Linked DNA regions of Homo sapiens: regions 2 and 3 are each linked to region 1. The links are contacts of gene promoters, found by promoter capture Hi-C in human tissues and cell types (Jung and others, 2019). All regions are on one chromosome and are shown on one strand. The core of a region is centred on a gene start or on the middle of the fragment in contact, and the rest is flanking DNA. Distances in the headings are between cores, read along the strand shown. Region 1 holds the start of ZNF560 (zinc finger protein 560). Region 2 has its middle 28 kb from the start of ZNF699. Region 3 overlaps ZNF559-ZNF177 (ZNF559-ZNF177 readthrough).

Region 1 (4,262 bases), core at 683-3,182:
TCTCAGCATTTTGGGAGGCTGAGGCAGGCGGATCACGAGGTCAGGAGATCAAGACCATCCTGGCCAACATGGTGAAACCCCATCTCCACTACAAATACAAAAATTAGCTGGGCGAGGTGGCACGTGCCTGAAATCCCAGCTACTCAAAAGGCTGAGGCAGGAGAATCGCTTGAACCAGGGAGGCAGAGGTTGCAGTAAGTCGAGATCACACCACTGCACTCCACCCTGGCGACAGAACGAGACTGTGTCTCAAAAAAAAAATAGAATGAAATCCTGTCATTTTCAACAACGTAGATAGAACTGGAGGACAGTACGTTAAGTGAAATAAACCAGGCACAGAAACACAAAGTTGGGCGTGGTAAGCGGTGGTTGCAGTGAGCCAATATCATGCCACCGCACTCCAGCCTGGGCAACAAGGCAACATCCTGCCTCAAAAAAACTCTCAAAAAAAAAAAATCTTGAATAGAGCTCAGATCCAAAAACATTCCGTTATATTTTAGAAGAATTTGGAGAATTTTCATTTATTATACATAGTAAATATTAGATAACATTATTATTTTTAATTTTCTTGATGCAAATAGTATTACGGTTTTAGTAAAACAACACTCTTATCATTGAGTCAGGCATTACCCACTACTTAAATGTCGAGCTTACCATCCTGGCTATCACGGTGAAACCCCATCTCTACAAAAATACAAAAAATTATCCGGGCACGGTGGCACACCCCTGTAATTACAGCCACTTGGGAAGCTGAGGCAGGAGAATCGCTTGAACCCGGGAGGCAGAGGTTGCAGTGAGGCGAGATCGCGCCACTGCACTCCAGCCTGGGCGACACAGCTAGACCCCCTCTCAAAAAAAAAAAAAAAAAAAAAATGTCGAGCTTCATCTCTGCAATGAATTTCCCATTGACTCTCAAACTGTTCACCATAAAATTTATTTACGAGACGGCGAATACACAAAACGCTAAAAAACAGGTGCAGCTACAATGGATATTTATTCGTGGTACTGGATGGTCAACATACCCATAGGTTTAAGTTTTTTCGAAAAAAAATGCGGGAAAAATACACTTAGTACAGTCATCCTGTTAATGGTAAATTCGATTATTCTAGTATTAGTGTGTAAACCCTCCATCCTTTCTTCCAGGAAGCCTGGTTATGAAGCTCTTTGGAGACGTACAGAGCTAGGAACTTCAGATGAAAAGAATGGCTGAGTATTCTTAGGTTTCTTTAGTAGAAAGACTCGCGGTCTACAAACGTTTATATGCACATGCAGAAATACGCACACCCTAGACAACTAAGAAAGCACCTTTCTACCGGAACGTAATGTGTCAATAAAAAATATACAGGTTTCACAAAGGCAAAATGCCAAAATCTCACATGAAACACTCGTTTGCATAAAAAAGGAAGCAGCTGCCCCCTTAAACCAACTTTTTCCCAATGCTCACCCGAACACGGTGGAGTCGCCAGGTCCGTGGGGCTACAGGATCTTGGGGACGGAGTCAATCGAACGCGAACGGCAAAATTCTTTTCCCTCTGAAACACAATTCACAAACGTTGCCTTGGAGACTTATTTTTTAAGGCCTCAGAACGCTTGGACACTTTTGAAGACGGGAACACACGGCTGAAAACAGCCCTCGGACGCGCCCATACTGCACTTCCCACCCGGCTCCTCTAGGGGACCGAAGGTCCCAATGGCCTCTTCGACGTGGCCTCACCCGATGGCTCCGCGACTCCTGCGGACTCCTGTGGAGTGGTCCAGGCCTCTGTAAGGAGGTTCCTCGATTACCCTGGGTCGATTGTGACCTCTGCCACCCCCCGAAACACCGCCCAACCCACTAGTCCACACGAGCCTCACCAAAGTAGTGAACGACCAGACAACACAAAGGAAAAAGTGGCTCTGAGGAAACAGGCGCCAGCGACCAAAAGAGAGAACTGGCGCGCCGCAACGTCACTTCCGTTTGGGGCATTGGAAGGGGCGTGGCTCGTTGTGTGGGCAGTTGGACAGGATGGAACTCTTCAGGATTCTAGTTTCCCTCCGCGTGGGTGCGGAGGTATCAAGGGGTCGGCTCAGTGCCTGGGTGGGCAAGAGAGAAATGGACCCACAGAGAAAGGTGGGGGTTAAATCAGGGCTGTGGGCGGGGCCCATGCCCGGGGGCGGGGCTGGAGGTGGGACCAGACCCAGCCGGTGGCTTCGGTGGCAGAATGGACCAGGAAGGCGAAACGTCGGGCGATGGACTCGCCCCTCAGGATGCTCATTAGAAACTTTCCCCACGTTCCTGGACCCCTTTCAGGATTCTCTCCAGTTGATAACCTGCCAATCCACAAAATGGCCTGCTTCCTGCATTCGATCACGTCTTTAGAACTTTATTTTCTCTTATTTCTTTTTATTTATCTGACCTTGCTAAACTCTAATCATTGATTCCTCTGCGTTTTCAGTTATCGATACTTTCTGTAAATATTGCAATTTTTTTCTTTTCTTTCTTTTTTCTTTTCTTTTCTTTTTTTCTTCGAGGTAGGGTCTGGCTCGGTTGCCAAGGCTGGAATGCAGTGGTAGGAACACGGCTCACTGCAGTCTCCACCTCTCCAGGCTCAAGCCATCCTTCCACCTCAGCCTCCCGAGTAGCTGGGACCACGGGCGCACCGCACCCGGCTAATTTTTGTATTATTATTATTATCATCATTATTATTATTTTGTAGAGACAGGATCTAACCATGTTGCCCAGGCTGGTCTGGAACTCCTGGGCTCAAGTGATCTGCCCGCCCTGCACTCCCGAAGTGGGATTACAGGCGTGAGCCATCATGCACCATGCCTGGCCTTATTGTATTTTTTTTTCTTCTTCAACAATGTATTTGTTACTATTTCTCAAATCTTATCAAATGATTCAAAGCCTCCTGTACTACTTTATGAAATAACACTGATACCAGGCATTCTTCACTTATTCTGTGCAGAAAAAGAAAGGACTGTTGGACTTGTGGTAGAGATTTAGTTGAATCTTCGGGTTATATTGGTATCTTTATAATACTGAGTCTTCCTATGTGTGAATATACAATATCTCTCTATTTAGGTCTTCTTTAAACTCTTTCAGTAATGTTTTGAAATTTTCAGTTTACAAATATTTTACCTCTTGGGGTAAAGTTATTCCCATGTAACTTATTTGTAAAAGGGATCACATTCTCAGTTTCCTTTTCTGATTGTTCATTGCTGGTGTATAGATACAAAACTAATTTTCATCTCTTGATGTTGTACTGTGCAACTTTACGGAATTTATTACAAGCTCTGCTAGTTTTCTTGTAGATTCTTCAAAATTCTCTATATATCAAATATCACCTATAAATATATTTTTATTTGTTCTATTCTAATTGAGAAACCTTTTATTTTATTTTCTTGTGTAATTGCTCTGGCTAGAATTTCCTGTAGAGGCTGGGCACGGTGGCTCACTCCTGTAATCCCAACATTTTGGGAGGCCGAGGTGGGTGGATCACCTGAGGTCAGGAGTTCAAGACCAGCCTGACCAACATGGTGAAACCCCGTCTCTACTAAAGATACAAAAAATTAGCCAGGCGTGGTGGTTGGCACCTGTAATCCCAGCTACTCGGGAGGCTGAGGCAGGAGAATCACTTGAACCTGGGAGGCGGAGGTTACGGAGTTTGCAGTGAGTGGAGATGGCTCCATTGCACTCCAGCCTGGGTGACAAGAGCAAAACTTCATCTCAAAAAAAAAAAAAAAAAAAGAATTTCCTGTAGAATGTTGAATAACAATAGAAAAATCAGACATCTTTCTCTCCTTCCTGGTCTTAGGGAGAATTTTCAGGCATTCACTATTGAATATCACGTTAGCTGTGTTTTCGTAAGTGCGTTTTGTCACGTTGAATAAACTCCCTTCTGTTTCTAGTTTTCTTAATTTTTTTTTTGAGACAATCTCGCTCTGTCACCCAGGCTGGAGTGCAGTGGCATGATCTTGGCTCACTGCAACCTCCACCTCCCGGGTTCAAGCAATTCTCTGCCTCAGCCTCCCAAGTAGGTGGGCACTCCCAAGTGCCCACCACAACACCTGGCTAATTTTTTTGTATTTTTAGTAGAGACGGGGTTTCACCAGCTTGGCCAGGCTGGTCTCCAACTCCTGACCTCATGATCCACCTGCCTTGGCCACCCAAAGTGCTGGGATTACAGGTGTGAGCCACCACGCCTGGCCAGTTTTCTTAATTTTTATCAAGGAAAAGTGTTGGGTTTCATCAAATGCCTTTCCTGCATTAGTTGAGGTGA
Region 2 (4,262 bases), core at 540-3,039, 220 kb before region 1:
GGGAGTCAGAGCTGATGGCCAGGATGATGAGCAGGTTCCCCAGAACGGTGACCAGGTACATGGACAGAAACAGTGCAAAGAGCAACTGTTGATCCTCTAGGTCTTGGGAAAATCCCAGGAGTAAAAATTCTGAAACTCTTGTTTGATTTCCCAAGTCCATGTTGCTGACACATCAGCTAGACAGTTAAGGAAGGGAAGAAACATGAAATAGATGCTGAACAGGCTCCAAAATCTCTCTGCTTTTTTATTTCTTGAGGTGAATAATTGGATACAAAAGCTTTAAAATAGCAAAACTTAGGAATCCTACATTCTGTCATTTGTTATAGGCAACATTTCATAACGTTGACTAACCCCTGTTCATTGGCCTCTCAGAGGCTTACCCATTCCCTTTTTCTCTGCTTTAGAATCATCAAATCTACCAAGAGCAACTTTAGACCTTAGAGATAAAATGGTCTGCACCTGCTCTAACACATATAAGGTTCAGTGAACTTAAGAAAAGGTCAGGGTCATCTTCCTTGTCTAAGACACAACTGAGACTGAAGAAGGTCAGACAACTATGTCTGAGCAGTGAGAAAATATGAAAGCAGAGATAATAGCTAGACAAAATATTGCAAGATGAGTGGATTTAGGTTTTCAAGGAAGGAAAGAGGAAGGGAGGGAGGGAAGGAGGAAGGAAGGGAAGGAAGGAAAGAAGGAAGGAAGGAAAGGAAGAAAGGAAGGAAGGAAGGAAGGAAGGAAGGAAGGAAGGAAGGAAGGAAGGAAGGGTTACTTGTTGCCTTAAGTCCCACTTGGAATTATGGTGGCAGCCAAATTCTGATTCAAATAGGTCATGACATTACCAGTAATAACATTCATCTTAAGAAGCTGACCGCACATTAAAAACTTTCTACCTTAGAACCAGGGTTTCAAAATTAGAGACCAGAAAGATACAGTCATTTGACACTTATATGATTCTCTTTTTCCATCCACATAATAAATATGTCCTAATCTGTTTCTAGTGTCTAGTGTTGGTGCACAATTTTTTTTGTTGTTGTTGGGTTTTTGTTTGTTTTCTTTTCTTTTGAGACAGAGTCTTGAGCTGTCACCCAGGCTGGAGAGTTCAGTGGCGCAATCTCGGCTCACTATAACCTCTGCCTCCCGGGTTCAAACAATTCTCCTGCCTCAGCCTCCTGAGTAGCTGGGATTACAGGTGTGCACCACCATGCCCAGCTAGTTTTTGTAAAAATACAAAACTAACTAGCTAGTTTTTTACAAAAACTAGTTAGTTTTACCATGTTGGCCAGGCTGGTCTTCAACTCCCAACCTCAGGTGATCTGCCCACCTCGGCCTCCCAAAGTGCTGGGATTACAGGCATGAGCCACAGCACGTGGCCTGGTGCATAATTTTTGTTGAGCCGTGCTGGGAAGTACAGAAGAATTGAACTAGGTTGACAACTAGGTTGTCAGTCACTGAAAAAGTGCTAACAGCCATTCTGCAAGAGGGTCTTCTTTGGGCCAGGCTAAGTGTTAGCTGTTGGGGATACAAAGATTAATGATGTGGTCTTTTTTTTCTTATGGTTCCACCTTCCAGAAGATGGATTCAGAAACAGATCATTGTAACACAGTGAATTAAGTGCTAAAATAAAACGATGTACAGAGTGGAGTACAGAGAGGAACCCTCAATCCAGCCTGGAGTAATGCATTCAGGGAAGGAGTCCTGGAGGAAGGAATACCTGGGCAAGGAGTTACCCAGGTGAATGGTTGCACAGGGGCATTTCTGGCAGAGATATAAGCAAGGGAATAAGCCTAGAAGCAAGAAGCAGCATGGGACAGAGTTCTCTTAGCCCTTTGCTGCTGCTTAAGTACAAAGTGTTAGATAGAAACGATGAGGATGATGTTGGAGAGGTGGGCAGGGATGACATGTCTAAGAACTTTGAAAAGTATAATCCATAAAGGATGGGGCTGTGAAGGAACGGCAATCAAAGGAGTAACATGATAGGAATTGCAATTCTCCCTGGGGCCTGGAGGGAAAGATGGATTTAGGGCAGGCAAAACTAAGGATAAGGGAACAGGGTTGGGGATTCTTCATATCATTGGAATTGAGGGGAACAACTCAGGAATATTTTTGCAGAAGAAATACAAAGGCCAGGAGAGGTAAAGGAATGAGGTCAATGTCTTGCTAACAATCTCAGCTTAAGGATGAGACTTGACCTTCAAGTGAAATGAAGGGAATTATGGAAAAGAATCCTGCAGGTTTCAATGCTTCCCTCGTGTTCCCCAGAGGATACGATGTCAAGAGGAGACTGGATGTTGGGCTTGCCTGAGCCCTTCACTTTCCCTCACTCACCCATCGTACCCTAGTTGTTATACACCATGGCCTTCCATTCCAGGGAACACAGACGCTTGTCTCTTGAAGGTGTCTACTTAGAATCATGGATAAGGGTAAAGAAGGATGGGGAAGGATAAGTCTTTCTGGAGAGGCAGGAGATGTTTCCAAGCAAGTGAGGGTCACAGAGAAGAATTCAGAGAGGCTTGATCTAGGCTGAGGGCCTCTGAAGTTCTTGGGTCAGGTAGTAGGTGAAAAGAACTAGAAGTGACCAGGACTTCACTGCAAGGCACCTACAGCTCCTACTGAAACCTGCAGGATTCTTTTCCATAATTCCCTTCATTTCACTTGAAGTCAAGTCTCGTCCTTAAGCTGAGATTGTTAGCAAGACATTGACCTCATTCCTTTACCTCTCCTGGCCTTTGTTTTTCTTCTGCAAAAATATTCCTGAGTTGTTCCCCTCAATTCCAATGATATGAGGAATCCCCAACCCTGTTTCCTTGTCCTTAGTTTTGCCTGCCCTAAATCCATCTTTCCCTCCAGGCCCCAGGGAGAATTGCAATTCCTATCATGTACCTTGGAGCATCCATTTGTACAATGCAGATTGGTCACTCCAAGACCACACAGAGTGATCCAGGGCAGCGCTAAGATATCAAACAGTGCCCCAGGCCAACAAAGAGTAGCCCTTCCTATAACCTCCATCAGTCATCTACCCAAGTAATATACAGGCAAAGTTAAAGCTCGCTATACAATGGCTATTTAAGCAAGTAGTCTAGCCATTCTCCCTTCCAAGAAATCAGCCTCAACAGCCCCTTCTCCGTGGACATCACAGGGTTTCTCCTGCCCTATGATTAACAAGTCAATGCCTTTCCCCTCAATCATCTCTTTTCCCTATTTCCCTCAACACTTACTGAGCTATGAAGGTTTGACAATGTGGACCCACCACAGGAGCCACCTTGTGTCCAGAATTGGTGGGTTCTTGGTCTCACTGACTTCAAGAATGAAGCCGCAGACCCTCGCGGTGAGTGTTACAGCTCTTAAGTGGCGCGTCTGGAGTTTGTTCCTTCTGATGTTCGGATGTGTTCGGAGTTTCTTCCTTCTGGTGGGTCCATGGTCTCGCTGGCTCAGGAGTGAAGCTGCAGACCTTCACTGTGAGTGTTACAGCTCTTAAAGCAGCGCGTTTGGAGTTGTTCGTTCCTCCCAGTAGGCTCGTGGTCTCGCTGGCTTCAGGAGTGAAGCTGCAGACCTTCGCGGTGAGTGTTACAGCTCATAAAAGCAGCGTGGACCCAAAGAGTAAGCAGTAGTAAGATTTATTGCAAAGAGCAAAAGAACAAAGCTTCCATAGCTTGGAAGGGGATCCGAGCGAGGTGCCACTGCTGGCTGGGGCAACCTGCTTTTATTCTGGTATCTGGCCCCACCCACATCCTGCTGATTGGTAGAGCCAGTGGTCTGTTTTGACAGGGTGCTGATTGGTGCCTTTACAACCCCTAAGCTAGACACAAAGGTTGTCCACGTCCCCACTAAATTAACTAGATACAGAGTGTCCACACAAAGGTTCTCCAAGGCCCCACCAGAGTAGCCAGATACAGAGTGTCAATTGGTGCATTCACAAACCCTGAGCTAGACATAGGGTGCTGATTGGTGTGTTTACAAACCTTGAGCTAGATACAGAGTGCCGATTGGTGTATTTACAATCCCTGAGCTAGACATGAAGGTTCTCCAAGGCCCCACCAGAGTAGCTAGATACAGAGTGTCCATTGGTGCATTCACAGACCCTGAGCTAGACACAGGGTGCTGATTGGTGTATTTACAATCCCTGAGCTAGACATAGGGGTTCTCCATATCTCCACCAGACTCAGGAGCCCAGCTGGCTTCACCCAGTGGATCCCGCACTGGGGCTGCAGGTGGAGCTGCCTGCCAGTCCCGGTGCCGTGCGCCCGCACTCCTCAGCCCTTGGG
Region 3 (4,262 bases), core at 740-3,239, 130 kb before region 1:
GAGGGCTTGTCTGTAATATGGAGCTGGAAGGCTCCAATTGTTTCAGTGATGTGTGTAGTTGGGCTTTGGAGATGAAGAGTAAAGGAACATCGAGAAGGTGAAAGTTTACCTAGGGGAATTCCAGTGGGTCTTTGCTGAGAGATACATAAAGGAGCTGCCACAGGAATAGTAGTTTGTGTTGTGAGAGGTCTAAATATGGGGGGAGTAGAGTTGATATAAGGAGGAAGGTTTTAGGTCTTTAAGAACACAGGCTAAGGGAGAAGGGGGAATGGAGGGCAGAAGCTTGCCCATAGTGAAGGAGGCAAGCCCAGAAAAAAGAGAGAGTAGAGACATGGAGAGAAGGGGTGGGGGCTTCTTGTCCTCCAGAAAAGCAGAGAAGGGGTAGAGACACAGAGAGAAGGGACCGGGGGGTTCTTGCACCCCAGAAAAGTGGAGAAGGGCTAGAGATATGGAGAGAAGGGTTCAGGGGTTCTTGACCCCCAGAAAAGCGGAGAAGGGTAGACACATGGAGAGAAGGGGGTCAGGGGGTTCTTGCCCCCAGAAAAGCAGTACTTGCCGCTAAGGGTGAAGGACCAAGGCAGGCATCCCCACGTGGTCAGACACCTCTGAAATGTGGGTGAATAATCAGGCAGGCGTCCCCGCATGATTAAACACCAAGGGAAGACTGTCTTCCCGAGTCCATGACCGGCGCCGGAGTTTTGGGTCCATGGATAAAACACGTCTCCTGTCTACGAGAAAAGGAAAGGAACTGAAATTGAGAGAAGGGAGAGATTGAAGTGTGGCGCCAAGATTGAAATGAGAAAGAGGTTGAGGGATAGTAAGAGAGGTTGGAGAAGAGAGTAAAAAGAGGCCACTTACCTGATTTAAAATTGGATTGATGTTCCTTGGCTGGTCGGTCTGAGGACCTGAGGTCATAGGTGGATCTTTCTCACAGAGCAAAGAGCAGGAGGATAGGGGATTGATCTCCCAAGGGAGGTCCCCAGATCTGAGTCACAGCACCAAATCTACCTCTGTCGCCAGGCTAGAGTGCAGTGGCGCAATCTCGGCTCACTGCAACCTCTGCCTCCCGGGTTCAAGTGATTCTCCTGCCTCAGCCTCCCAAGTAGCTAGGATTACAGGCATGCTCCACCACACCCGGCTAATTTTTGTATTTTTAGTAGAGACGTTCTTTCACCATGTTGGCCAGAGTGGTCTGGATCTCCTGACCTCGTGATGCGCCCACCTTGGCTTCCCAAAGTGCTGGGACTACAGGCGTGAGCCACCGTGCCTAGCCTCATTCCTTTTTTTAATGAGACAAGGTCTTTCTCTGTCACCCAGGCTGGAGTGCCGTGGTGCCCTCGACCTCCCTAGCTCGGCCTTCCACCTTAGCCTCCCGAGTAGGTAGGACCACAGGTGTGGGCCACCAAGCCTGGCTATTTTTTTAAATTTTTGGTAGAGATGAGATCTCACTGTGTTACCAGGCTGGTCTGAACTCCTGGGTTAATGTGATCCACCCACTACAGCCTCCCTAAGTGCTGAGGATTACAGGCATGAGTCACCATGCCTGGCCTTCATTTTCTATTGTCAAATGATAGTCCATTGTATGGATATACCACATTTTCATTTATCCGTTCATCGGTAGATAGACATTTGGGTTGTTTCTCCTTTTTGGCTAATATGAATAATGCTGCTGTGAATATTTCTCTTGGGTATATACCTAGGAGTGGAATGCCTTGTTCATGAGACGAACTTTTATGTTTAATCTTCTGGTAAAATGCTAGGCTGTTTGCCAACGTGGCAGCACCACTTCCCACTTCACTCCCCTCCACAAAAAAACAAGAGAATTTCTCCACATCCTCATCCACACTTGTCTTTTTAATTACACTCACCTTAATGTGTGAAGTGGTATCTTAATGTGGTTTTGATTTGCATTTCCCTGGTGTCTAATGATGTTCAGCATCTTTTCATGTGCAGTTGACCTTTTTATCTTTAGAAAAATGTACATTCAGATCATTTGCCCATCTTTGAATTGTGTTTTCAAAAGTCAGCTGAGGCTGGGCGTGGTGGCTCACGCCTGTAATCCCAGCACTTTGGGAGGCCCAGGCGGGCGGATCATGAGGTCAGCAGATCAAGACCATCCTGGCTAACACGGTGAAACCCCGTCTCTACTAAAAATACAAAAACATAGCTGGGTGTGGTGGCACGCGTCTGTAGTCCCAGCTACTTGGGAGGCTGAGGCAGGAGAATCACCTGAACCTGGCGAGGTTGCAGTGAGCAGAGATCGCACCACTGCACTCCAGCCTGGGAAACAGACCAAGAGTGTCTCAAAAAAAAAATAAAAATAAAAATAAATAAGCTGGCTGAATTAAATTCAGCCCGAAAGTTTTCAGGTTGAAAAAATTTATTTTTGAAATCATTATGTGATACTGGTTTTTATCACTTTGAGTTGATCATACAATTTTTCTTTTGCTCTATTAATGAAGCAAATTATATTGATTTTCTAATAGCAAGCATCTCTTGCATTCCTCTGGTAAACCTAACTTAATTCTGTTGTACTATATTTCCTATTTATTGACATTTTTTGTTTGGACTTATTTTCCTTAGAATATCTGAATCTATGTTGAAATTTGCCTATAATTTTGTTTACTTAAAGTGGCCTTGTCATGTTTGATATCAGTATGCCAATCTCAAAGAATATTCTTCCTTTTATACTCTTAATCACGGTAATCCCTTTGATAAGTTAAACTGTTTTGTGAAATTAGTTTAAAAGTGACCATATTTTTTTCCCTTGTAATATTGTAAACTGCTGTTAATAGAATAACCAAAGGCAAACATGACATTTTGAACCATACACAATTCTGGGGTTTGCATAAAGGCTATATTAAATAAAACCTTCCAGATACCCAGCTCTTGCCTATAGAGTGGATAAGTTATCTATACCTGAAATAATGCAAACATTAGTGACAAATTACATTGAAGTGTAGTTTAAGTAACCAGTCTTCATAAATATGCCTAATCTCTGGAATATTTTCATCCAGACTGGAATTCTTTCTTCTTTGAGTGGCATAACTGACTGATAAAGCCTTTGAGCATGGTGTTTTTTGGTGAAAACCTAAATAATCTAGTTTTGTTTTCTGTTTTAAAAGAATATCTGGGCAGTGAGTTAAGCTGGGAAGACCTAGCACCTTGCTGACGGGATCAGTCTAGATTCTTCTTTTATATTTTTTAAATTGTGGTAAAATACCTAAAGCCAAATTTGCCATTTTAATCATTTTTAAATGTACAAGTCAGTGGCATTCATTGCATTCACAGTGTTACTCAACCATCACCAGCTAGTTCTTTTTATTGTAATTTCTACACAGTTTTGGTAAGTTGTATTTCTGTAGGAATCAATTTATTTCCTGAAAGTTTTGAATTTGATTAAAGTTATTCATGTCTTGTTAATCTCTGCAACATTTGTAGTTGTGTTTTTCTCCTTTTGTCTTTGAAGAATTTTGCCCGATTTTTTTCCTAGTAGTTTTCAAAGAACCAGTTTGTAGCTTGAGTGATACTGTTGTTTTCTAGTTCATCATCGTATTTTCTGCTCTTCCCGTTCCAGCTGCTTAAGTTAATTTTTAAGTTCACTTCTTTTCTAATATAAACATATAAAGCTTATTTTTTTCCTAAGGACCAGTTTAGCTACATTCTACAAGTTGTGGTACTTAGAACTAATCAATAACCATAGTATTATGTATTTTCTAATTCAATTCTTTTATAAAAGCATAAGTTATTTGGAAGTGTGATGTTTTCTGAATTCCAAATGTGTTACTTTTTTCTGTTTGCTTGAAAAATATGAAACCACTAATATTCAACCATATTTTAAAACTACCAAAACACCCATTTCATATAGTTCAATGTAATCTCGTTATTAACTTACAACTTAGTTACATTGTAATTAAGACATGTCAGAGAACATGTTTGTATACCAAATCTTTTTCTAAGTTTTAATTTTTGTGGGCACATAGTAGGTATATATATTTAAGGGGCCCATGAGATGTTTTATATACCAAATTTGGAAGGTTTAAGACTGGCTTTACAGTATATTCACCATACAGTATGGTCAGTTTTTATAAACACTTCATGTGTGCTTCAAGAATCTATGTATACTCCATACATTCAGTAGTGTCCCTCAGTGTGCTAGATTAAGCATACTCATTGTGTTGTTCAAATCTTCATATCCTTTTTTTCATATGATCTTTCTATTGCTGAGCAGTGTTTGAAAGTCTTATAGTGATGATTTGTGT

Evidence for each region. Contacts are between HindIII fragments. The study calls those that stand out against the background at their distance.
Region 2: a fragment that was not itself captured here is called in contact with the fragment with the promoter of ZNF560 in region 1 in 7 of the 25 tissues and cell types used here (H1 embryonic stem cells, IMR-90 fibroblasts, lymphoblastoid cells and 4 more).
Region 3: a fragment that was not itself captured here is called in contact with the fragment with the promoter of ZNF560 in region 1 in 3 of the 25 tissues and cell types used here (adrenal gland, aorta and small bowel).

Annotation. Positions count from the first base shown.
Region 1 is chr19:9,496,684-9,500,945 of GRCh38, forward strand. ZNF560 (zinc finger protein 560) reads right to left here and starts at 1,933. Exons shown (of 10, transcript NM_152476.3): 1 at 1,855-1,933; 2 at 1,445-1,532. The HindIII fragment of the contact is 15,358 bases long and covers 1-4,262 here.
Region 2 is chr19:9,279,210-9,283,471 of GRCh38, forward strand. It overlaps the pseudogene OR7H1P. Among named protein-coding and RNA genes, the nearest start is that of ZNF699, 28 kb to the right of the region's middle. The HindIII fragment of the contact is 5,089 bases long and covers 1-4,262 here.
Region 3 is chr19:9,365,008-9,369,269 of GRCh38, forward strand. All of the region lies in intron 7 of ZNF559-ZNF177 (ZNF559-ZNF177 readthrough), which reads left to right. All of the region lies in intron 2 of ZNF177 (zinc finger protein 177), which reads left to right. Among named protein-coding and RNA genes, the nearest start is that of ZNF177, 4.1 kb to the left of the region's middle. The HindIII fragment of the contact is 4,787 bases long and covers 1-4,262 here.